Regions from separate parts of the Homo sapiens genome. Here region 1 is linked to region 2. Evidence: promoter capture Hi-C in 16 types of primary human blood cells and fetal thymus (Javierre and others, 2016). All regions are on one chromosome and are shown on one strand. The core of a region is centred on a gene start or on the middle of the fragment in contact, and the rest is flanking DNA. Distances in the headings are between cores, read along the strand shown.

Region 1 (6,561 bases), core at 2,363-4,862, 450 kb after region 2:
CACGCACTCCCAGCTGCAATGGATCTGCCCCAGAAGGCTGGATTAGTGCCAGTCTTACCTCTGGGTGCCTGGGTCTTCATGGTGGCTCTTTAAGGTGGAGGGCATGCAGAATCAGTGATGAGCCCTCTTCCTACCCTTTGTGCATTTTTGTCTTCTGAGGAGGAGTGGGTCAGAGGCACTTCCTGGAGGAGAGAACAGGACCAGGACCCATTCTGGGTGTTCAGAGAAGCTCTGTGGAGCCAGATGCCTGCATGTGAACCCTGGCTCTTCCAGTCCCTAGCCGAGTAGCCTTGGACAAGATACTTGATCCTTTCTGTGCCTCAGTTTCCCCATCTATAAAATGGGGATGGTGAGAGCTCCTATGTTATAATAAATGAACTAACAGATGTAAAGCTCACAGCTCAGCACCTAGTACAGTAAGTGCTCAAATCTTTGTGTCACAGGTTCATGGTCACCTGAGAGCATTCCCCAAGGCAGGCGGGGGCAACACGAAACAACCAAGTAGGTGATCCAACTGGTTGGCATCCTTCTCTGCCCTCAGCCACCCCAGTGTTGGCATGATGGGGGTGGAGGCTGTGCACAGGCACAGCTGCCCTCAGCCACCTCAGTGTTGGCATGATGGGGGTGGAGGCTGTGCACGGGCACAGCAGCATGGCTCCTGCTTTTCCAGGCTGATCTCCCGCTGCTGCTTCTGGAAACCAACATGCCAGCAGCGGAACCATGGCTAAGTCCCTGCGATGGCACCAGGCCTCACGGAGGCCAACTGACAAGTCAACTCCATTACACTGGGCTCTTCCACGTGGAAGGCACAGCAGTCTAATCTCAGAGGAACAACCATCCATTCCTGGGAGGGGTTTGTCTTTCCTGCCTGCAGGGTCTCAGCCGGCACTCCTACCCCGGGGTTGATGGATTGTTCGATCCACTGGCACAGGATCCCACATAATAGTGTGTCAGACCAGGGGACCCACTTTACTGTAGAGTAGGTGCAGGCACAGACTCACAACGAAGGGCCCATGTTTATATCACATACCATACCACCCAGCCGCTGCCCACCTTACAGAGTGTGGGAGGGGCCTGCTGAGGGCCCAGCCAGAGCGCCAGCTTGGAGGAAATACCCTGTGAGCACAAGGTTCCATCCTTCAGGATGCAGTATATGCATCTAATCAAAGCCCTATATAAGGGTTGCTCCCCAATAAGAAGAGTACATGGACTTAAGAAAAACAGGTAGGAGCCAAAGTGGCCCCACTTACTATTCTCCTAGTGAACCACTGCCAGACTTAGTGACTCCCATCCCTGCGACTCTGGGCTCTGCAAGGCTGGACATCCTGGTCCCCAAGGGGGACCTGCATGTTCCAGGGAACACAGTAAGAGTCTCTAGCTTGTTTGCCATGGTGGCTGCCTGGGTATTTGGGCTCCTTGTACCCAGGGACTAGAAAAGCAAGAAGACGAGGTCGCAGTCTTGGTGAGGGTAATGGAGTCTGATCAGCAGGAGGTGGGGGGCTGCTGCAGTGCAGTGGGGGCAGGGAGGAATGTGTGCAGAACCTGGTGATCCCTAAGAGTTCCCTGCATGGAGAAATGAATGTGAGCAGCACCAGGGGAGTGCTGTGACAGATGAGGAGGGGCCCACTTGGATGCCCTGACAGTTTATCCTTCCTATCCCGCTCTTGTGCTCGAAAGAGTAGGGACCTACTCACTCTCTTGCACTTGAACTTTTAGCCTGTGTGAGTAGTAGACAAGGAGACGCACACCCAGAGGCACCATCAAGGAAAGGCTTGCTCCCAGCTCCGAGAGTGCAGTCCACAGAGGGCCTCCTTCTGTTAGCTCTGCTGCAGGGGCTCCCTTCCTGGGAGCACACACTCAGGGGCTGAGCAAGACAGGGTGGAAATGCCCAGCCAGTTTTGCCCTGCGCTGGGCAATTCTGACAGCTGACTCAAGCTACTTACCTTCTGGCTGTGGACCAGGCTGACTTCCTCCCCTCTGGCCCCTCCTTCCTTCCTTTCCCCTTTCTGTCCATCCCTAATAAGCATCTCCACTCATGTCCCCAACTCCATCTCAGTGTCTGCATCTCAAGAAGCCCTTGTGACCCAGGGAACCCAGTGACTTTGTATCAGTCAAACGCGAGTTGGAGTCCAATGGCCATGACTTAACTAGCTGGGTAACTTCAAGTGGTAAACATCTTACCTGTCTGTGCCTCACTTTCCTCATCTATAAAGTGGGGCTAATAAATCTCCTGGCCTTGCAGAGATGTGGAGAATGGATAGGAAAATGCTTTGTAAAGGAGAACACACACGCACACACACACACACACACACACACACAAAATTAATTAAAGTCCTCTCTGCTTGCACCTATGCCTATGGTGTAGGCTGAGATCTATAATAACGGGGGCCTGGCTGGATCTGAGATCCTTCTGGGAAAGAGGTCTGGGCAGCTTGATGCCGGTGACCAACACACCGGCATGCCCACAGTATAGCTGCCATTTCGGGACCCCACAGAAGGGAGGTGCAGGCGGTGCAGAGGGCTGGCTGGGCAGGGCAGGATGAGCTGGGGTGAGAATGGTAAGTGTGGCGGAATTAATCCCTTCTCTCCTCCTCCTTCCAGGAAGCTTCACTCCTCTGCTCAGCTGCTGCACCACATTTCGGATCAGAACATCTAGATCCATCAAAACAAGAGGTGGATGAGATATCTGCACATTCAGGGAGGGGAGGATAAAATCCAGGGGGCCTCATGAGATTGCTCTCCACGTGCGAGTGAGCAGACAGGCGGTGTATTTCCTGATTGCCCCAGGCTAGGTGAGGAGTGGCTCAGGCAGCCCAGGCTGGGCAGGGACACTAGAGACTGATGCATTAAAGAAAAATTTATCAAAAAATCAGGGAAGAAGCTAGTTTCTCTTTACCCCCTCTATTTAAGGACCCCTTGAGTGATAGTTCCCGGATCCTCCTGCGCTGGTGTTTGTCTTTCGCTGAAGGTGATGGATGTGTAAGCTGCACTAATGAGCAGGGCTTGGGCCATCAGACAGTCACAGGGCCGTCCAGCTCCATGCACCTCCCAGGCCGTGAGACAGTCACAGAGTTGTCCATCTCCACGCATCTTCCAGGTTCTGAGACAGTCACGGGGCCGTCCATCTCCACGCACCTCCCAGGTTGTGAGACAGTCACGGGGCCATCCATCTCCACGCACCTCCCAGGTTGTGAGACAGTCACGGGGCTGTCCATCTCCATGCACCTCCCAGCTGTCAGCATGGTCCACCGGGGAAATATGTGATTAATGCAGAGGATTATGTGTGTGTTGGGGTGGAGGGAGATGTAGCCCAATGGAGAGGAAAGGCATGGACCAGCTTGGGGGTGGGAGATGGGGGTCAGGGGGATCTGGACCTCAGTTAGTCAGGACAATTGAGAGAGTCTCAGTAGGCTCCCAAGAGATAGTGAATGAATTCTCCAGGGGCTGGGGGCAGTGGGTCAGTCCAAGACCCTGCCTGCCCCTCTCCTCAGCCTTAAAGGTTCACAGTAGAGAGAGGAGTCTTCCAGACCTGAGTTCAAATCTTAGCTTGGACTCAGCTTTGTGACATTGGACTTGTCAATGAACTTCTCTGTGCCTCCTTTTCTTCCATGTATGTCCATTTAGCATTAAAAGAACTAACGAATGCGTGGCAAGCCCTTTGCACAATAGTTGACACAAAGCCAGGGCTCAACCAACAGCTTTTCTGTCTCCTTATTGCTGTTGTCAGTAGGATTATCTAGCTTTTCTATAGGCATGTATTGTAGATGTTTATATACGATATATTTTGTCATTGAGATCTTACTGTATTCACCTGTCTCTCTCTTTTTTTTTTTTTTTTTTTTTGCTTACCATTCTGTTGTGAGCATTTTCTCACATCATTAAAAAGTTCCTCAAAAACGGGATGTTAATAGCTTCATAATGGTCCCTCATTGAGATGCTTCATAATTGACTTTTTCATTCTTTCTGGTTGGATAGACAGGGCATTACAGTTTCCAGCTTTTCACTGTTATTATCAGGCTGCAATAAGCATCTCTAGGACAAATTCCTGGAGGTGGAATCAGTGCATCAGAGCACTGACATTGCTGAGGCTCAAGAGCGTTCCTACTTAGTTGTCTTCCAAAAAGGTTTCCAGCACTGCATGAGAATGCCTGTCTCACCACACATTTACCAGCTCAATTGTTCCCTTTTTATTTAGTCTTCATGAATTTCTCAGGCCCCAAATTGAATTTCATCGTCTTTTGGAGGCACAGAGCTCTGGCCCATGGCTCTTGTTTCCCAGCAGGGTGATAATTAGATTATCTTCAGAGGCTTCCAGCAAACCTCATGATGAAAGGCAGGGCAGCCCTGGGCATGGAGTCAAAGAAGCTGGGTTCCCATCCCAACTCTGTGCTCTCTCACTGTGTGACCTGGGTATATTCTATCTCCCTCTCTGGGCCTTTGTTTATCAATCTACTCCAACAGCCTCCCACTTGGTCTCTCTGCCTCCAATGCATCCAATGTCTGGAACAGTGACTGGCATATAATACGTGCTCAACAAATATTTATTGAATTCTGAAATGAAAAAGTGACCTTTCTACAGGAAGAAGCTGCCACATCATTATGCTGCCTCCAACATTTGCTTAAGCTTCCTAACATTCTGTTTACTTTTTTGGTTCTCGCATGAATTTCTGTTTCTACTTAGGATATGAAAAGACACATGAGACAAAATGAGAAAAAAGGCCAGATAATCTACAGAGTCATAACTTTTCTTGAGCCCTTCAGAGAGCTGGAGTCGCAAGGCAGCCAACTGAACTGAAACCTAAAGGATGACAAGATCTTCTGAGAAAGACAGAACCACCCACTCCTGCACCTCTGGCAGAACCCTGGAGGGAGAGTGGGCTGCCATAACAGACAGCTAACACTGCAATGAATTCTTAAAGGCTGAGTGTGCAAAGGCTTTACAGCTGAGCCATCCCAGGAGCCCCCACACTTAAAAGGAGTTCACGTTCCTTCATCAGCTGCTTCCGGTAAAGCTCAGGACAAAGACGGGACAGGACAGGGATCTGAGTCAGCCACCTCTCAAGGGCACAGGGACATGAAAACCCTCCCACTTCCCAGACCCTTCTCTTATCGGAAGCAAAAGCCTCAAACCACTTCCCTGGGGCAGGAAAAACCTTCTACCCTGGAGGCTCAGACAAAGATCTGTTGTCTCTGGGGGAGGGGCTGGAGCAAAAGCCGTTTTCTGCTGGGGAAGGGGTAGGAAACCCTTCCACCTTGGTTCCTGGTTGAGACGTAGAAGTTGAGATCTTTGTTCTCAAAGAGGTCTGGAGAGATGCCTGCAGCCTCTCACTGGAGGACCAGCCGTGCTGCTCTTGCACACAATGTCACCAACGAGCTGGTCTCCGGGGGTCCTCAAGAGCCCTTCAATGGCCAAAGTAGGGGGCAGGCTGGGCTCTCAGGAGGATGTTGGGCCGTAGGAGAGGGTGGGCCAAGGGAAGGAGGCCATCAGAGAACAGCCTTGTATGGGCGGGGCCGGTCCCCATTGTGGGGAGGGCCATCCCCACTGGTGAGTGGGGCCATCCTGGAGCAACGAATTAACTATTTTAGAGGTAGAAATGGGGTCACAGAGTCCAGTCAGGTGTGAGTCCACTGGAGAGGCCCTGGACCTACTGTGAAGCTAGGGCAGGGGGCAGCTGTAATGCCAGAGACTCTGTTGCTCAGAGCTGGGAAGCTGGGGCCTAACAATGCAAAGACCCCACCCATCCCCAGCTGTGCCCACCCGGGGCCTTTGCCCTCCCAGCCCTCCTGCTGGGGCCTCCCCTCCCCCCTCCGGCGTTACAGCTCCCACGACACCAGGTGGCACCCTTGGCACAGCTGCGCCTCATCACCTGGAGCTTCCCTGTCCTGTCTCTCCTGCTGGAGCTGAGCTCCACGGGGACAGGGATGGGTCTGCTTCCGTCATCGCTGTGTCCCTGGAGAAGGGTGGGCATTCAGTGGGCACTTGGTACATTTGGTGAAGGAACAGGGCAGGACTAACTTTTACTGTGGGGGAGAGATAAAGGAGAGGAGGTATCTCTTGGCTTCCCAGTCTGGGACCCTGGTGGGGATGGCAGGACGTTTCTGGGATAGGAAACCCCAGGGAGGAGCGGGCTTGAGGGATGGATGGGGAGCTCTGAGGGCCCTGGGCCCAGCCAGCAAGAGCCAGGCTTTGGTGTTCTCCCATCTCCCTCCCCCTTGACAGCTTATGGCCACACTTTGCCCCAGTGGGTGGGATGGATGCCTCTCCCGCATCGTCATTTTCTAGCGGTAGTTTGAGAAGTTCTTGCTTTCCCCTCATCTGAGGGCTGCTAAAGACCCAGACACATCCACCAGGCACCTGGACGGAAAAGGCAAGGGGAGGAGAAGGAAAGTGAGGAAGGAAATCAGTTTTCTGTATCTGGTTTAGATCTAGATTTTTAAATGTGAAAGCTGGGAGAACCTAATGATGGGCTGGAATTGGGCTTCCTCCGGGGGAAGCTGGCTTGGCGTTTTCCTGCAGCATCCCTGTCTGCAGCACCATTCCTCACTCCAGCTCTTAATTCT
Region 2 (7,282 bases), core at 19-2,518:
TGTTGGAGCCTGGGAGGCAGAGGTTGCAATGAGCCAAGACTGCGCCATTGCACTCCAGCCTGGGCAACAAGAGTGAAACTCCATCTTGAAATAAAATAAAATAAAATAAAATAATAAAAACATGCCATATACTGGGCACGGAAATACAAGATGAGTCTTTTCCCAAGGGAGCTCATTTCTAGAGGTGGAGACAGATAATGAACTCATCATATAGCCCGCACTCTATTTGAAATTGCAACAATTCCCCTTCCCTTCCCTGTCCCCCCACCACCCCCAAATTTCCTGGTGTATGAGACAGTGATAAAGGACGTACACCAGAGGGTTTGCTTTTTTGTTTTTGTTTTTTTGGTTGTTTACTGTTCTTGTCTTCCCACTGGAATGTAAGGTCCATGAGAGTAGGGAATTTTTGTCTGTTTTATATCTCTACCCTGGCCTATAGTAATTGTTGAATAAATGAATAGACCCCAATAAATATTTGTTGAATGAATAGGTGTCCAGATGGGAGGAAGGTCTCAGCCCCTATTCAATTCAAACCAAACAACTTTGATTCAAATCTCGGTGCTGTCAAATACTGTTGCATAACAGTATTTATGCAGTATAATTATTGCATACCTAATATATGATGATTAAATGAGTCCATGTGGGTTAAACACATAGAAGGTACCTGGTCTTACATAGTAATGAGCAACGAGTTTGCAGATCATAGTGCGAGGGCTCGTTCTGGGTAGAGGCCCAAATACATTTAACCTGTGTAGCCAGAAGGTAGAGTAGGACCAGTGAGGGCTAGTGAGGGAGGTAGACTTGCACGTCATGAAATGAAAAACTTTCTAAAAGCCGGCGTTTCCAAAGCCCCAACAACCGCTCTTGGCCAGGTGATGAGCGCCCTGTTCCTGGAGGTATGTAGAACACGCATTTGAAGGCGCCAAGGTACAAGGGATTCAGGCATCGGATGGGACAGAGGCCGGGTGTCCCTGGGTCACCGTCCCTGAGAGCGCTGTACGGGAGCTAGGCGTGGGCCATGAGCGTGCTCGCCTGGCAGTGTTGGTGCCCGGTCCGTGGAGACGTCCGTGGGCGTCCAGACCCAGCCGCGGGGCCTCATGGCGGGGAGGATGCGGGAGCGGGGGAGGGGCGCGCCAGGGCTAGCGGGCGGCCGGACCCGCTGCAGCACCCGCCGTGGCCAGCAGGGAGCGCCGCGAGACCGCCGAACCCGCGGCCGGGCCTGACGTCAGCGCCCCGCTTGCTCCGGCTCGCGCTCTGGACTCGGCGCCAGTCCCGCTCCGCGCCGCGCCGCTCCGCTCCGGCTCGGGCTCCGGCTCGCCTCGGGCTGGGCTCGGGCTCCGGGGGCGGCGTCCCCCGCGCCGGGCCCCGGGACGGGCGGCGACGCTCCAACCATGGCCCGTGCCCAGGCGCTCGTGCTGGCACTCACCTTCCAGCTCTGCGCGCCGGAGACCGAGACTCCGGCAGGTAAGCGCGCGGCGGCCGGACCGAGCCTGCCCCGCCGAGCCTCGGGGCCCGTGGCGTAGCTCGGAAGAAAGTGTGAGTGTTGAGTGACCGGGCGTTACGAGCGTGCTCCCTGTGTGTGTCTGAGCGTAGGATGGGCGATTGTGTGCCCGGGGTGTTGCGTGACTGCGAATGTTGTGTGTCCGTGAGTTCTGTGCGCAAGAAAAGGTGATGTGTGTCGGCGAGTATGTTGGGGGTGAATGTTGTGTGCATCGAGGCATTGGGTGTGCGCTGAGTGTCTTGTGGGTCTGCCAGTGTGTAGTGTTTGTGTGGCCAAGTGGGTTGTGTGTGCATCTGAGTTTGGTTGTGTTGCGGGAGTTGTATCTGCTAATGTGTTGCATTTGTTTGCATTTTGTATGCCTGGCCGGGAGTGCTGTTTGTTTTGTGTCTGCGAGTGGGTTGTGTGTTTGTGTTATGCCTGTGGCCAAGGGTGCTCTCTGGATCCCGCCTGAGTGTGGATCCGGGAACGCGTGTGTGGCGTGTGTGCTTTTGAGATCCGTGTACATGTGTGAAGGCGTGGGAACGGGTCCGGAACGTGTGTGTCCGTGCGCTGTGTACGTGTGGGGAGTGTCTAGGGTATGTGGTGTGTGCTGCCGGGGGCCGCGTGGGTCCGAGTGAATGCCAAGTGTGCCGGGAATGCGTGTGTGGGAGCGAGTCTGGAACGGATGTGAGTGTGTGCGAATGTGTCCGTGTGTGCTGGCTGCGCGTCCAGGAATGTTGCGAGTGTGGAGCGCGCCTGGGCCGCGGCTGCGAGTGTGCCCTGGTCCCGGGGCCGCCCGAGGGGGCGGTGGCAGGACGTGTGTGCGCGCGTGTGCGTGTGCGCGTGTGTGGCGCGCTGGGCCGGAACAAGTTGTCGCGGCGGCGCCCCCTGGGCTGCCCGGGTCGGGCAGGGCCCGAGGCTCAGGGGAGGACCGGGCCCCGCGGCCGCCGCCTCGGGCATGTCGGACTGTTTGTTGTTTCGCAAGTTCCGCGCGGCGCTGGCGGGCGGCTGATCCGAGGCGGCGCCGGGGCTGCGGGGCGCCCGGGCCAGCGGGCCCCAGCGAGGGGCCGGCGGGCGGGCAGGGGAGGGCCGGACCGGCGGGCGCTCCTGCGGTGGCCGGGCCGCGGCTGCGCCCCGGGCGGCCGGGCGGGGGCTGTCCCCGGGCTGGGCTGCGACGTCCGGGCGCGGGCAGGGCCTGGCTCGCCGCCGGGGGACGGCGCCCCCTCCCTTGGCGCGCAGGACGCGCGGGGGACGCCCGGGCCTCCCGGGACACTCCCTTGGTGGAGCCTGCAACTTTGTGCGGCCTCCCGGCCGGCCGGGACCGCCAGGTGTGTGCTTGAGTGTGAGCGTGAGTGTGAGCGTGTGGCTCCGCGCTTGTCTGCTGTGTGGTCGCGTTCTCCGGGTGTGTTTCGGAGTCTGGTGTCTTTGGTGTGCGTGCGCGTGTGTGTGTGCGCGCAGCTGAATGTATGTATACGGAGCCTGTGTTTGTGTGTCCGTGTGCTCGTCGGAGTGTGGACGGTGTGTCGGATGTGTGTGCGTGCGCGTGTTCCACATCCCACCCTGAGGCCTGGGATCCTAGACCGCGGCCCCTTCCCGCGGAGTTTCGGGGCCCTGCTCCGGGTGACCTCCCCCGCCCTCGCCACCGGCGGGGCTGCTCCGCGGGCTCCGGGTAGCCGGGAGACGCCCGGGGCGGGATCCGAGCCGAGACACGTGCTGGAGCGGAGCCGCTTCCTCACGGTCGCCAGCCGCAGACAACTGACCTCCCCGGCATCGCGTTCGCGGCCCTGCTGCTGGCTCCGGTGTCTCGGGCCGGAACTCCTGTGGCTCCAGCGTTCGCGCCGGCCACTGGCCAGCGCTTGGGCCTCGCCCTGCAGCTCCGGGGCCATAGGGCACAGCTTTAGCTTTGACCTCCCCGTTCCCGAAAGGACGCCCAAGGCGACCTCCCACCCCATCCTCCCCAACTTCTCCCCCATGTCCTGCGGCAACTTTGCCTCCCTCTCCCACCGTGAAATCAAACCCGCGGGGTTCTGTATGCGCCCCATCCCCGCTCCTACCACCATCGCTTTGATTTCAAGAACACTCACAAGCCCCAAGCCCTGCCAGCAGGAGGACTGTCAGGAACTGAAGTTTGGGAGTGAGGCCTAGAGCAGGTTACTCCCATTCTTGATGCCTCAGTTTCCTCTTCTGCCTCATAGCCATCATGATAATGGTGTATGGCACTTTTGGTAGATACCAAGTACCTTGTAAAGTAAGGCTCTGTCTGTGAGTGCCAGGGAACAAAAAATGGATTTGAGAGTTGTTGCAAAGCCCCAGACAGAGGCTGTGATTTAAAGCTGGGGTATTAGGTGTCAAATTCTGCCTCTGCTACTTGCTATTCATGTGATGTCTGGCAAATCACCTCACTTGTAAAGTTCCTGGCCCCCTTTGTTATTCTTAGAGATGAACTCAGAAGCCCAAGTAGAATAGATGTGATACCCCTTGTCCCCAGTCTGGACAGAGTCAGCCCAGCTCCCTGAATGGCTCCGGAGCTTCCGGGTAGGGGCGGTGTGTGATGCCTTCTCAGCCTTGCAAACCTGGTAGTTATTTATTCTGCTGTGTTCTTGCTATTTTGTCCTTTTGGTCGCAGGAGTTGTGGACGGCAGGAATGAGGGAGTGGCTGCCCAGTGGTTTCAGGTTGGGCAATAAAGGCTTGTCTGGGCATCCCTCCCTTTTCCCTGGGGCTAGGGGAGGGGACTTAGCAGGAAGCAGTGACAGTGGCCGAGGTGGGGACGCTGAGCTCCTGGACAGCCTGCTGCCCAGCTCTGGTGTCAGAAAAAACCTAGGGCAAGCATCGTGCTTGATGGAGACAGGCCACCATCCTTCCATGATTTTCATCAGCTCAGCTGGGCATATGGGGTGGCCTTTCCATGCAGGACTGGGTTGGCCAGAGTTGCAGGGGGTACCTTGTGCTCCTCCTTCCTCCCCCTCCCCCCTTTTCCTAGTTGCCCTCCTGCATCCTGGAACGTCCTGTCTGCCCTCTCAGAGACTCTTTCATCTGTCTCCTTCTGTCCGTCCTCAGCTATCTTTCACCTGCAGGAAGACTCCAGCCTCCTCCTTCCCTCTTTCCCTCATGGTGCCAGGGATCTTTGTAAAGTACATTTTAACTCAAAGGGTTTAAAACCCTTTGAAGGCTCCCCATTGCCTTCAGGGTGAAGTCCTTATCCCTTGGCCCTGTTGCTGGCTCTAGCTCCTGCCTGCCTGTCCAGCTGCATCTTGTTTTGTGTCACTGCCCCTTGCATCCTATGATCTGGCCAGCCTGACCTTCTTACCAAAGACCCAAATGCCCACAGCCTGCTGTCTCCTCTCTGGGCCTTTGGGCAAGCCGTGCTTTCTCTGCAGAACTTTCTAACTCCAGCTTTTTGCTGGTGAACTCCTGCAACTTGATGGGCTCTCAGCTGTAAGCATCATCCAGTCCCTGAAGCCTTCCTCGGTGATGCCCTGTCCTAGCCTAGGAAGTCGGGGGGTGGGGGTCAATTGGATTTTTACATAGCATTGTAATTATTGTAATTACAGTTTATTAGTGCTGTCTCCCTTACCAGACTGAGAGCTGAGGACAGAGACTGGGTTTTTAGTTTACTTCTGAATCTTAGTGCCAGGTACAAGGCCTGGCCCACCGGGTCTGAATAAATATATATGGCCTGAAAGAATAAAGTTTAAGGGGGCCAGGTTCAGAGGTGGAGATGCCAGATGGGGGTGCACTGATTCCACTGAAGGTAGAGATTGAAGAACCAGGTTTCCCTCCAGGAATCTGGAAAATTCCTGGAGGGTGGGGGATGGTGTTATGTTGTGAAAAGGCCATGTTGAGAGTGTCATCTGGGAGCTTTGAGTTGGGGAGGTTGAGTCCCTGGCAAGAGACTGAAGGGAACGGGCCTCCTGCCTGCCAGCCCCTCCCCCAGGCTCTGGCCCCACCCCTAGCAGCTGGCAGGGCCCTTCCAGCCCCCAGTCTCAGGCTTTTGTGATGGGGCCTGGCAGTTGGTGAGACGTTGAGTCTCAACGGTCTGTGTGAGTGGCTGGGGAGGAGGGAGGGAGCCCGCAGGGCCCTGTGTTAGGAGAGGGAGGGAAGCTTCCTGGAAGACCCTCCCTTAGTCCTCAGTCCTAGATCCTAGGGTGGGCGGGTGGGGTCACAGCCTCTGTTCTCACCGCTTGTGCACCGGAGGGAAGGGAGGAGAACTGCATCCCGTGGTGGCCCTGGCAGATGGGGTTGGGGAGGCTGGCTGAGGTGTGTGCAGATGTGACTCTAGCATCTGGGCAGTCAGAGTGGGGGGTGTGTAGGGATTGTAACTAGGGGCATGGACACATGTGACCTGTTAGGGTGTCTAGCCATCTGGTTATCGTGTGGTGTGGCAGGATCTGAGTTTGGAGTAGGGAGGTAACCAGCTGCTTTGACCCCTGGGGAGCCTGGTGCTAAGGGTGTCTGGCTATCCAAGTATCACATTCCTGGAGTTGGGTGCAGAGCTATTTGGATGGGTGGTGTCTCGCTATCTAGGTGTGGACAACCCAGTACCAGCATGTGGGAGGATCAGGGTGTGCAGACAGAGGCTATCCCAGCATCCCTGGGGCTGGAGGTGGGTGTATCCATGTGTCTGGGAGTCCTCAGGTTAGTGGGTATTTATAAGTGGGGAGTGTCTCTGTGTTGTGTCCAGGTATGGGGCTGGCCAGGTGCCTGAGTGTCTGGTTGTAGGGGTCCCCAAGTGTCCGGGTATCTGAGGGTGGGGGTATCTGTGTATGAAACAACAGGGACCCAGTCATTGAAGTATCCAGTTGTTAGTGAGTCTGGGTGTGGGGTGCCATGTGTCTATTTTTTTTTTTTCTTCTTCTTCTTCTTCTTCTTCTTTTTTTTGAGATGGAGTCTCACTCTGTCACCCAGGCTGGAGTGCAGTGGCGTGATCTTGGCTCATTGCAACCTCCGCCTCCCGGGTTCAAGTGATTCTCCTGCCTCAGCCTCCTAAGTAGCTGGGATTACAGGCGCACGCCACCATGCCTGGCTAATTTTTGTATTTTTAGTAGAGACTGGGTTTCGTCATGTTGGTCAGGCTGGTCTTGAACTCCTGACATTGTGATCTGCCTGCCTTGGCCTTCCAAAGTGCTGAGATTACAGGCGTGAACCACAGCGCACGGCCTTTTCTTCTTTTTTATTCAGATGGAGTCTCGCTTTGTCACCCAGGCTGGAGTGCAATGGCATGATCTCGGCTCACTGCAACCTTTGCCTCCTGGGTTCAAGCGATTCTCCTGCCTCAGCCTCCCGAATAGCTGGGATTACAGGCACCCGCCACCATGCCTGGCTAATTTTTGTATTTTTAGTAGAGATGGGGTTTCACCATGTTGGCCAGGCTGGTCTTGAACTCCTGACCTCAGGTGATCCACCTGCTTCGGCCTCCCAAAGTGTTGGGATTACAGGTGTGAGCCACTGTGCCTGGCCTCATGTGTCTATTTGTATGTTTAGATGTGGAGGTGCCCTTGTGACCTATGGTGGTGTCCATGTATCCAGGATGTGTCCACAAGGGGTGTGGACGTGTTGGGTGGGAATGTCCTGGTGGCTGTACCCAACTCAACCTCTGGTAGCCCCTTCCCTGGGACTTGCCTCCTGATCGCTCTTCAGACTCCAAAGCCAGAAGCCTTGGAAGGGGCCCCGATAGTTCTGTTTTTCAACGGTCAGCCTAGAGCTGTGTTATCTAATAGAACCTTCTGTGGTGATGGAAATTGTCCTCTACCTGCATTCTCCAATACGGTGGCTCCTGAGTCATGTATGGGTATTACATTTAA

The links. Contacts are between HindIII fragments. The CHiCAGO score rates a contact against its expected background, and 5 or more counts as called.
Region 1: a fragment that was not itself captured here is called in contact with the fragment with the promoter of PTPRU in region 2 in 1 of 17 cell types (endothelial precursors); the score reaches 6.1 in endothelial precursors.

What each region holds. Positions count from the first base shown.
Region 1 is chr1:29,683,708-29,690,268 of GRCh38, forward strand. It overlaps LOC107984934 (a long non-coding RNA gene), which reads left to right. Exons shown (of 3, transcript XR_001737958.2): 3 at 2,602-5,590. Among named protein-coding and RNA genes, the nearest start is that of LINC01756, 340 kb to the left of the region's middle. RefSeq lists an enhancer at 5,643-6,142. The HindIII fragment of the contact is 2,019 bases long and covers 2,604-4,622 here.
Region 2 is chr1:29,235,254-29,242,535 of GRCh38, forward strand. PTPRU (protein tyrosine phosphatase receptor type U) reads left to right here and starts at 1,269. Exons shown (of 30, transcript NM_133178.4): 1 at 1,269-1,464. The coding sequence starts at 1,392. RefSeq lists a silencer at 1,072-1,391. The HindIII fragment of the contact is 8,758 bases long and covers 1-5,580 here.